3 separate regions of the Homo sapiens genome follow, and all the other regions are linked to region 2. The links are contacts of gene promoters, found by promoter capture Hi-C in human tissues and cell types (Jung and others, 2019). All regions are on one chromosome and are shown on one strand. The core of a region is centred on a gene start or on the middle of the fragment in contact, and the rest is flanking DNA. Distances in the headings are between cores, read along the strand shown. Region 1 overlaps SLC6A11 (solute carrier family 6 member 11). Region 2 holds the start of SLC6A11 (solute carrier family 6 member 11). Region 3 holds the start of LINC00606 (long intergenic non-protein coding RNA 606).

Region 1 (2,700 bases), core at 97-2,596, 43 kb after region 2:
GAAACAAATGCTTACTCTATGCCAGCCTTGGTGCCAGGGCTTTTACAAGCCACTCACAGACCCTGCACCCCTTGTTTGTGACAAGGATTTTGTAACATGGCTTTTGTCACCCTGAAACGCAACTCATAAATAATCTGCCTGCACAGATAAGTTCAAGAAAATTGATATGATGCCCTAGCTATATTATAAAGGAAAAGCAAAAAGAGAGCAAATTATAAATAAAACAGCATGTATTTCAATATGTAAATGCTCGAGCACACAAGAAAACATAATGAAGTAGTCAGGTGCTGGCACCAGCTTGTAAGAAATACATATGGATGTGAGACAGGAGAGCCGATGCACCACTGAATATTGTCTATACTTTTTCTCCATGTTTTACATTTTTAAATAAGAACTAGCCACATATGTTATTATAGAATCACCACGAATGCAATAGCTGGAATAGTGACTAATAAAAGGGTGGTTGTGTCAATCACTCACATTCCACGGACAGTACAGCCATTAGTGACATGATTTTCTGAAATGATGAACAATGCTTGGTAAAGTACTGAATTAAAGAGACAGCCTTTCCTCAATTTACATGGTAATTGCATTTCTGGAAAATTCAGTCTATATTAAAATGAGGTTAAAAAAATCTTCGAGGATATATGTAAAACAGAGTTAGCTTCTCACTCGAATAATTATAAACAGCTCCTCCCCACCCCACAGGAAGTGGAACATGCAGAAATCTTGAGAAGCAGGAGAGTTTTTTTGCTGTGTGAGGATGGTCCCCCACACTGTAGGATTCCCAGCATCTCTAGTTATTTGCCATCAAATGCATCACCTCCATCTTTATGATGACTCGAAATGCCTCTACATGTCTCCAGGTTGCCCCTTAGAGGATGTACTGCTCTTGTTGCAATCACTAACTTATGTTATGTCATTTAATCTTCACAATAATTCTTTGAAGTAGGTATTTTTGTTTCCACTTTATAGGTGGGCACACTGAGGCTTAGCGAGGTACAGTAACCTGCTCAAGGTCACAGAGCTGGGACTGGAAGCCCCTCTGTTTTTCTGTCTCACTATGGCATTTAATACTGAGTTATTGTTTTACGGAGCTATGTGCCTTCAAATTAATTCAACATGCACTTATTAAACACCTACTGGGTTTTAGGTATTCTGGTAAGTCAAGGAGACATAAAGGCAAATATCTAAGACTTGGTCCTGTGCAGCATATGGGATTGTCCAGAGAGAGAGAGAGAACATGGCTCTGGAAAGGAATGGAACAAGTTCTTTATGCCCAGAATGGGCAGCCCTCGAGGGTATATGAAGAGAAACAGGCTGGATTGGTAGGTAGAGATCAGCTTATGAAGGGATTGTAGACAAGCCTAGTAAGAAATTGAGAGCAATGGAGAGGCACCAAAAGGCTTAAAGCCAGGGGATTCTATGACCAAGCTTTATAAAAAGGCCACCATAAAATGTGGCATGTGGAATGAATAGGAGGGGGCTGAGACCAGAACACATGCCATTAAGTAGTTTGGGTAGGAGATAGTGACAACTTTGAGGTGGAGAGAGAGGAAGAATTTGTGAAATAAGCAAGAGTATGAGTCAGCCCTCTGTGACCCAATGTAGAGGGTAAAGGAGACACAGCAGCCCAAGATGAAGCCCAGCTTTCTGGCTTGAGTGCCCAGTGCTCAGTGGTGCTGGTAGGCGAAATGGAGAAATATGGTAGGAGGCAGTGTTTTGGCTGGAGTTGAGGGAGACCATTCTTTGAGGACCCATTAATGTCTGTGACTCTGCAAGTAGACCCATTAATGTCTGTGACTCTGCAATGTCTGTGACTCTGCAAGTAGAGATATTTGGGTAGCAGACAGGTATGTCTGAGCTCAGGTGAGAGATGTGTGCAGTGGAATCGTTAGCATGTATGTTAGGATTTCTTTTCCTGGAGCCTGTGGATGTTTCAAGGTATCCATGAGCTCCTTGGAATTGTATAAAAATTCTGAGATTGTGTGATATGTACTTTTTTCTAGGGTGAGGGTCTGTAGATATCGTCTTATTTTTAAGGGACCTGTGTCTTCCCAAAATGAGAAACCTCTAATATGCCATATTTTGTCTAATCTAAGTTACATCATTATTTTATGTACCAGAAGGTACATAATGCTTTCAATTAAGAACATTTACCAGAAGTATAAACACTTCCAATTAATCTACTATCCACTGCTTTAACATTATTCCTGTGTGACACGTGGAATAGTCACACCAGACTCTACTGTTGCTTTGAAGTTTCTTCCAAAGGAATTGGCAGATTCTTCTGACCTCAGGTGTGTTTTCTGGGGTATTTTTTGGCAACCAGTTTGTGGTAACAGAATGTAACATAGCTTCATTTACTTGGGGTTCTTGGATCCATAAAGTAATTGGCTGTTTCTTTGCAAGAAAATATGGAAGTGTGATCATCTCACCAATGATTTCTATTTTCTTTACAGTATCAAAATTTATCCCTATTTCTGTGCCTTTCTACAGAGACATAGTGTAATCTTTTTAAAAGACATTCTAAATCTCACACAGCAATTGACTAAATTAATTTAAAATATTTTATCTAACAAAACCCTTAGCTCAGCTATAGTGATGAAACAGGAACAGCTATGCCCTTGGTCCCTTCCATTCCGGCAGTGGAAACTACATTGCAGCTGCCATGTGGGAGCCATCCTGATTTCAGAGATA
Region 2 (2,700 bases), core at 64-2,563:
GGAGATGGAGGTTGGGAGCGACTTGAGCAGTTGTGAGCCAGAATGAAAGGAGAAGCGGAAGGCAGGAGTTTGAAGGCTTCAAAGCAAGGAGCCTGTCCCTAAGAGAGCTCCAGAGGGAGCTCCGAGGGACAGATGGAGAGTAGGGTTGGTGGGGGCTCAATGTGGCTGGACTTTTCCAGGCCTGTGCAATGGAAGAGGTGGAAGTGTTCATCTCTGTGGCCCCCAGCAGCTTAATAGTCTTTCCTTCTTCCCCTTTTCCTCTTCCTACCTTCCTCCCTTCCTCTCTAGCCACAAACATTTATTGAGCACATACTATGCACCAAGTCTTGTGCTAGGTTATGTTGCTATTATAATGAACAGGACAGTGTATATCATCCTTACAACTAAGTGAGGAGACAAATATTATACAAGAAGATGGACAAATGTGTGTAGGTCTACATATTGTATAATACTAACAATGGGTAATGTTCATTGGGCACTTTCAAGGTATCAAGACCTTTATAAGCATTTCTTAATAACCTTTTACCTAAAAATCCATCCCCTACATTAAAACTTACAAGATACTACTGATATTACCTTTTGCAGATCAGGAAACTGAGGCACAGAGGGATCAGATGACTGGCCAAAATCACACAACTTAGATTCACCTGTTTCCAGACGCAAGCACTTAACTGCCACACGGTCCTGACTATGTTGAGAGCTGCGGACACCAGTATGAACAAGACCTGCAGAGTGTCTAGGGCTGGGAAGAAGCCACGAATTCATTTACTGCCTTTTCCTCAAGGTGTGGTCCCTGGACCAGACATATCAGCGTCCCTGGGGAGGTAGTCAGACACGCAGGCTCTTCAGCCTACTGCGACCTACTAGACCGTGATGTGTAGTTTAAACAAGACCCGCAGGTGTCTGGTGTGTAGTTCAAGTTGGAGAAGTCTGGTCTAGAGCCCATTCCTCTTATTAGAAACAGGAAACCGAGGCCCAAGCATTTGAAGGTTATGGACGGTGGTAGAACTTTGGGGTTTGGTGAGTGGAGCCGGCCTAGGCCGGAATGGGCGCTTCCACTCTTGGCCCAGCAGGCCAGTGGGCAGGGCCGCGGGAAGGACGGGCGCTGCAGGGGCTCCGCGCGCTCAAGGTGCTCGCGGGCTCCCGGGCCCAGCCGGGCTGAGGTGGCGTGGGCGCCCTGCGGGCCGGGCCTCCGCGGCGCGTCCCAGTCCCAGTCTCCGCGCTGGTCTGGCCCGGTCCCTCAGCTCCACCCCCTGCCTCCCCCTCCCGCCCGCTCGCGCCTCCTGAAAAGCCAGCTCGCCCGGGGCGGCGGCGCAGAGCCGGGCCGGCGCACGAGGCAGCCAGCGCGGCCATGACGGCGGAGAAGGCGCTGCCCCTGGGCAATGGGAAGGCTGCTGAGGAGGCGCGGGAGTCCGAGGCGCCGGGTGGCGGCTGCAGCAGCGGGGGCGCGGCGCCCGCGCGCCACCCGCGCGTCAAGCGCGACAAGGCGGTCCACGAGCGCGGCCACTGGAACAACAAGGTGGAGTTCGTGCTGAGCGTGGCCGGGGAGATCATTGGGCTGGGCAACGTGTGGCGCTTCCCCTACCTGTGCTACAAGAACGGAGGAGGTGAGGTGATAGTGAGGAGAAGGGGAGGGGGCGCCAACCGCCCGGTGGGGGCGGGGAGCCAGGGGCGAGCGCGAGACCCCCTCCCGCGCCTGCGTGGAGCGGAACCCGAGCGGAGAACCTCGACTCCAGGCACCTCGCGTGTGAGCTCGCCCCGGAGCGCGGCCCACCTGTGCCAGTGCGCACGCGCACGTGCCAATTCGCACCTGAGGGTTCCACCTGCCAGCGCGGGGACTTGCCCGCGTTCTGTCCCCAGCATGAGATGCAGACCGAGGCCAGGGAGCCCTTGCTTTGGGTAGGCGCCCTGGTGTTTCGGGCACTTGGCCCCTTGGAGCCTCAGCTTTCCTAACTGGGAAAACGGCCTGTGGGGAAGGGACTCCTGATGATCAAAGTGGTCTCAGTTTTTGCGCGCTTACTGAAGTGCCGAGCACCTTTGACCATATCATCTCATCTCATCCTCTCAGTCACTTTCGTAGGCAGGGGTCTACCCATTTTGCAGGTGAGGACACTGAGGGTCAGAGAAGTCTCACTCGACCAAAAATAAAGATGAGATTCTGATGTCAAAGGCCCTATTTTAAACTGGGACTGGACTCACAACAGGGAGAACTTTTAGGCGAGGCATTGCTCTATGGTTTCCTGCCTAGTCTTTCGTCTGCTCTTAAGCCCATTTCTAGGGCCAATATTTGGGGCCCCTCTGGTGGAAGAATTGACAACGAACAGTTTATTTTACGGGTCTGAGAGTCACCCACGACAAACAGCAATACTGGTTTAATGTTGATGCTCTGCATAGAGATGTAGAAGGGGAGAGGGAAAGGACAGTGATGAGAGAGTCCTTTCTGGTGACAGCCTCTCAAAGTCAGTTTGGCAAAAGATGCAGCAGCGAATCCGTAACTCTCCCAGCTCAGGGAAGGGGCTCCAGCCTTCAGGACCCCCTCCTGTCATATCGGCAGGACAGCTGGGCGGGTCCATGGCAAGGGATCTTATAAAACCTCCTTCGGTGGCACAATTTCTCGAAGGAAGAGCCTGTATCTGTATATTCTCTCTTCTCTTTGCTGTGCCCCTGCCCCTCCAGCAAATTCCCAAACCCCAGCGAAGG
Region 3 (2,700 bases), core at 85-2,584, 52 kb before region 2:
ATCTGGGAGACCCAGGGCCAGAGAAGCAGAGTGGGCCCGTGAAAGACAGGAAGGGTGGTCCGGGCCATCAGACATTGACAGCCTCTCTTGTGCCTGCTCCCAGGCTCTGACCCATTCATCATATCCCTGATTCTAAGTTGCCTGGGATTTAGACCTGTTTCTGCTCCAGGATGTCCAGTCCCTCTAGAAGCAGCTTGGAGTGGTCTGGGAGCGGGGGACACTCGTGGCTGCTCCTTTGTAGCAGTTCTAGAACTTGCAAGCATGGGACAAAGATGATCATGATCATTTCGCTCATCCCTCGGGGCTCTAGCCCCTTCCCGGAGAGTGCTGTCAGGCTCAGGGCCCTGCATTCCAGTCCCGACGGGCCACTTCCTGGCTCAGAGACCTCCAGCACCACTCTGGGCCTCAGTTTCCTTATCTGTCAGCTCCCTCCCAGCTGGGTGGTCATAGGTCTAAATAAGATCACGTGAATATATGAAAGTTCTCTGTAAACTGCAAAGTATTAGCTGTACGTTAACCTCTGTCCTCTCTGAAATTCACAACTCACAGAATTACTGGGGGTCTTTTCTAACAGGACAGTGACAGGGGAGCAGATGGCCCCGGTTCTCTGAGTCACACTGCACGGTCGTCCCACCCCCACAACTGCCTCATTTTCAGCTGCGTCCTCTTCCCTCCACTCCAGTTCAGAGAGCCTTTCAGTTACCCTAATCACACTACACATTACTTGCAGGCCTCGGAGCCTGTGCTCAAGCCATTCCTTCTGCCGGGAATGACCTTTGCCTCCCTGCTTGGCAAACTTCTATGCATCCTTCAAGACTCAATGCCGATGACAGTTCCTGCCTGATACCTTCCCAAGGCAAAGGGTGTGCCTCCCTCAATGGGCTCCCCAGCCTCTATTTTCGAACCAGAGGAGTGAGAACAAACCGAGTTGGCATGACGGACGCACCCCTGCCCCGCACACAGTAGGTGCTTAGCTGATGTGTGGATTTGAACCTGTTGCCTTCCCCTCACTCACCCAGGACTGGTCTTGACATTCAGAGCTCAACTCACATCCGGGGCTGTGTCCAAGCCCTCTATTCTGTTTGGCTCAGATGGCCCCACGCTCCCTGGGGCAGAGCCGTCCCGAGGCAGCCTCTGCCTTCATGATGCTGTGTCTCTATGTGTTGGGGTGTGTGGCAGTGGAGGGGCTGTGGTCACAGAGGAGCCAACCAGGAGAGCTGAAGGCCGCCCGTAGCCATGGAGACAGGGCCCCCGGGCCAGCCAGGCCCGGGCTGGTCAGTGAATGAATAAACGTGGCCCATTTTTCTGCTTTTGTCCGGAGCCTCCCTGGGGCTTCCTGCTGTCAGCCCCAGCTGTGGGGAAGGCGGAATTTGCCTGATATCGCGGAGCCGCCGCCTGGCAGCGCCGAGCCTGGCCTGGGCCGCTTCACGCCAAGATTCATGCCCGGCTAACAAGCCCCACTTTGTTCCTGTGGGAAAGTCCAGCCTCTCAGGAAAGAGCCCTCTCTCCGGCCGGCCCCTGGTCTGGGGACTCAGCGAGGCAAACAAAGCCTCCATCCGCTGGCAAGGATTCTCAGGCCCCGAAGTCCACCTCCGTTCCCCGGCCAGGGGAGGAGCTGCTCTGGGAGGCGGAACTCAAGCGCATCCCTTTGTCCCACTCATCCCGGAGGCCTGAGATGCCACCTGTCTGGCAGGTCTCCCCCACTGCCCCTGCCTCGCCTCTGGCTACAAAGTGTGGGCTCTGTCAGAGCAGCTGGCCTGGGCTGGGGCACCCAAGGCCTTGGGGAGCTCGGCCTGGCCCCTGCTCCCTGGAGTTGAGGCCCAATGTACCTGCAGATACGCCCCAGGGACTGGGTGGAGTCCTGATGGCACTGCTGTCCAGACGGTGACCTTGGCCTCATCACAGCACCTCAGCAGGCTCAGGACAAGGACACTAAGCCCGGCTGCCCCCTCGAGTGTTGGAGTTATCTTCTCTAACCACAATGACAAGGAGTGGCCTTATTTAGCACTGGGCCTGTGCTGGGCTCTCCACCGAGGGCATTGCATGGGTGAACCATTGGAGAGGTTCTCCCATTTGTGAGCTCGGCTCAGACGTCTATAGGGGAGGACAGAAAGGTCACAGGAAGGACGGATGCTGCTCTGGGGTTGGAGCAGAAGGCACTCCGCCCCACCTAGCAAATCCCCAGCAACGCAGCTTTGGCAGCTGTTATCCTGTAGAAACGTGGGTCCAGCCCTGTCTGATCTTCTGATTGTCTTTCAAGGGAGTTGAACATTTCTATTTTGATGTGAAATTTCCCAATTTGTAAAAATGTAAAACGAAGCAATATATCGTGGCTGAAAGCCCTCAGAGTCCAAGTTTTGTTATCTGTAAGGGAGGTGTCAGAAACAGGTGGCCTAGGGACTAGATGCGGCCAGCAAATAGGTTTTATCTGGTCCCCAGATAATTTTACAATAATTTATTATGGAGTCTATGTCATGCATTCCAAAGAGGAATATAAAATGTACATGAAAGGCATAAAGAATCATGAAATACATATCCCTGAACCCACCTCCCAGCTGAGAAAATAGACCAACCCCAAGACTGCCCCTGCCAGCCCCTCCCCCCGCACCCCAGAGAGGTAACCACTGTGCTGAATTTTGTGTCTACTCTCCCCATGCTTTATATGTAGTTTTATATGTAGTTTTGTATCAGTTAGTGCAT

The links. Contacts are between HindIII fragments. The study calls those that stand out against the background at their distance.
Region 1: a contact is called between a fragment that was not itself captured here and the fragment with the promoter of SLC6A11 in region 2, in 1 of the 25 tissues and cell types used here (IMR-90 fibroblasts).
Region 3: a contact is called between a fragment that was not itself captured here and the fragment with the promoter of SLC6A11 in region 2, in 1 of the 25 tissues and cell types used here (aorta).

What each region holds. Positions count from the first base shown.
Region 1 is chr3:10,857,664-10,860,363 of GRCh38, forward strand. The region is part of intron 5 of SLC6A11 (solute carrier family 6 member 11); the gene reads left to right. Among named protein-coding and RNA genes, the nearest start is that of SLC6A11, 43 kb to the left of the region's middle. The HindIII fragment of the contact is 3,362 bases long and covers 1-2,700 here.
Region 2 is chr3:10,814,915-10,817,614 of GRCh38, forward strand. It overlaps SLC6A11 (solute carrier family 6 member 11), which reads left to right and starts at 1,314. Exons shown (of 14, transcript NM_014229.3): 1 at 1,314-1,607. The coding sequence starts at 1,352. The HindIII fragment of the contact is 14,406 bases long and covers 1-2,700 here.
Region 3 is chr3:10,763,046-10,765,745 of GRCh38, forward strand. LINC00606 (long intergenic non-protein coding RNA 606) reads right to left here and starts at 1,164. Exons shown (of 3, transcript NR_152730.1): 1 at 1,016-1,164. The HindIII fragment of the contact is 6,271 bases long and covers 1-2,700 here.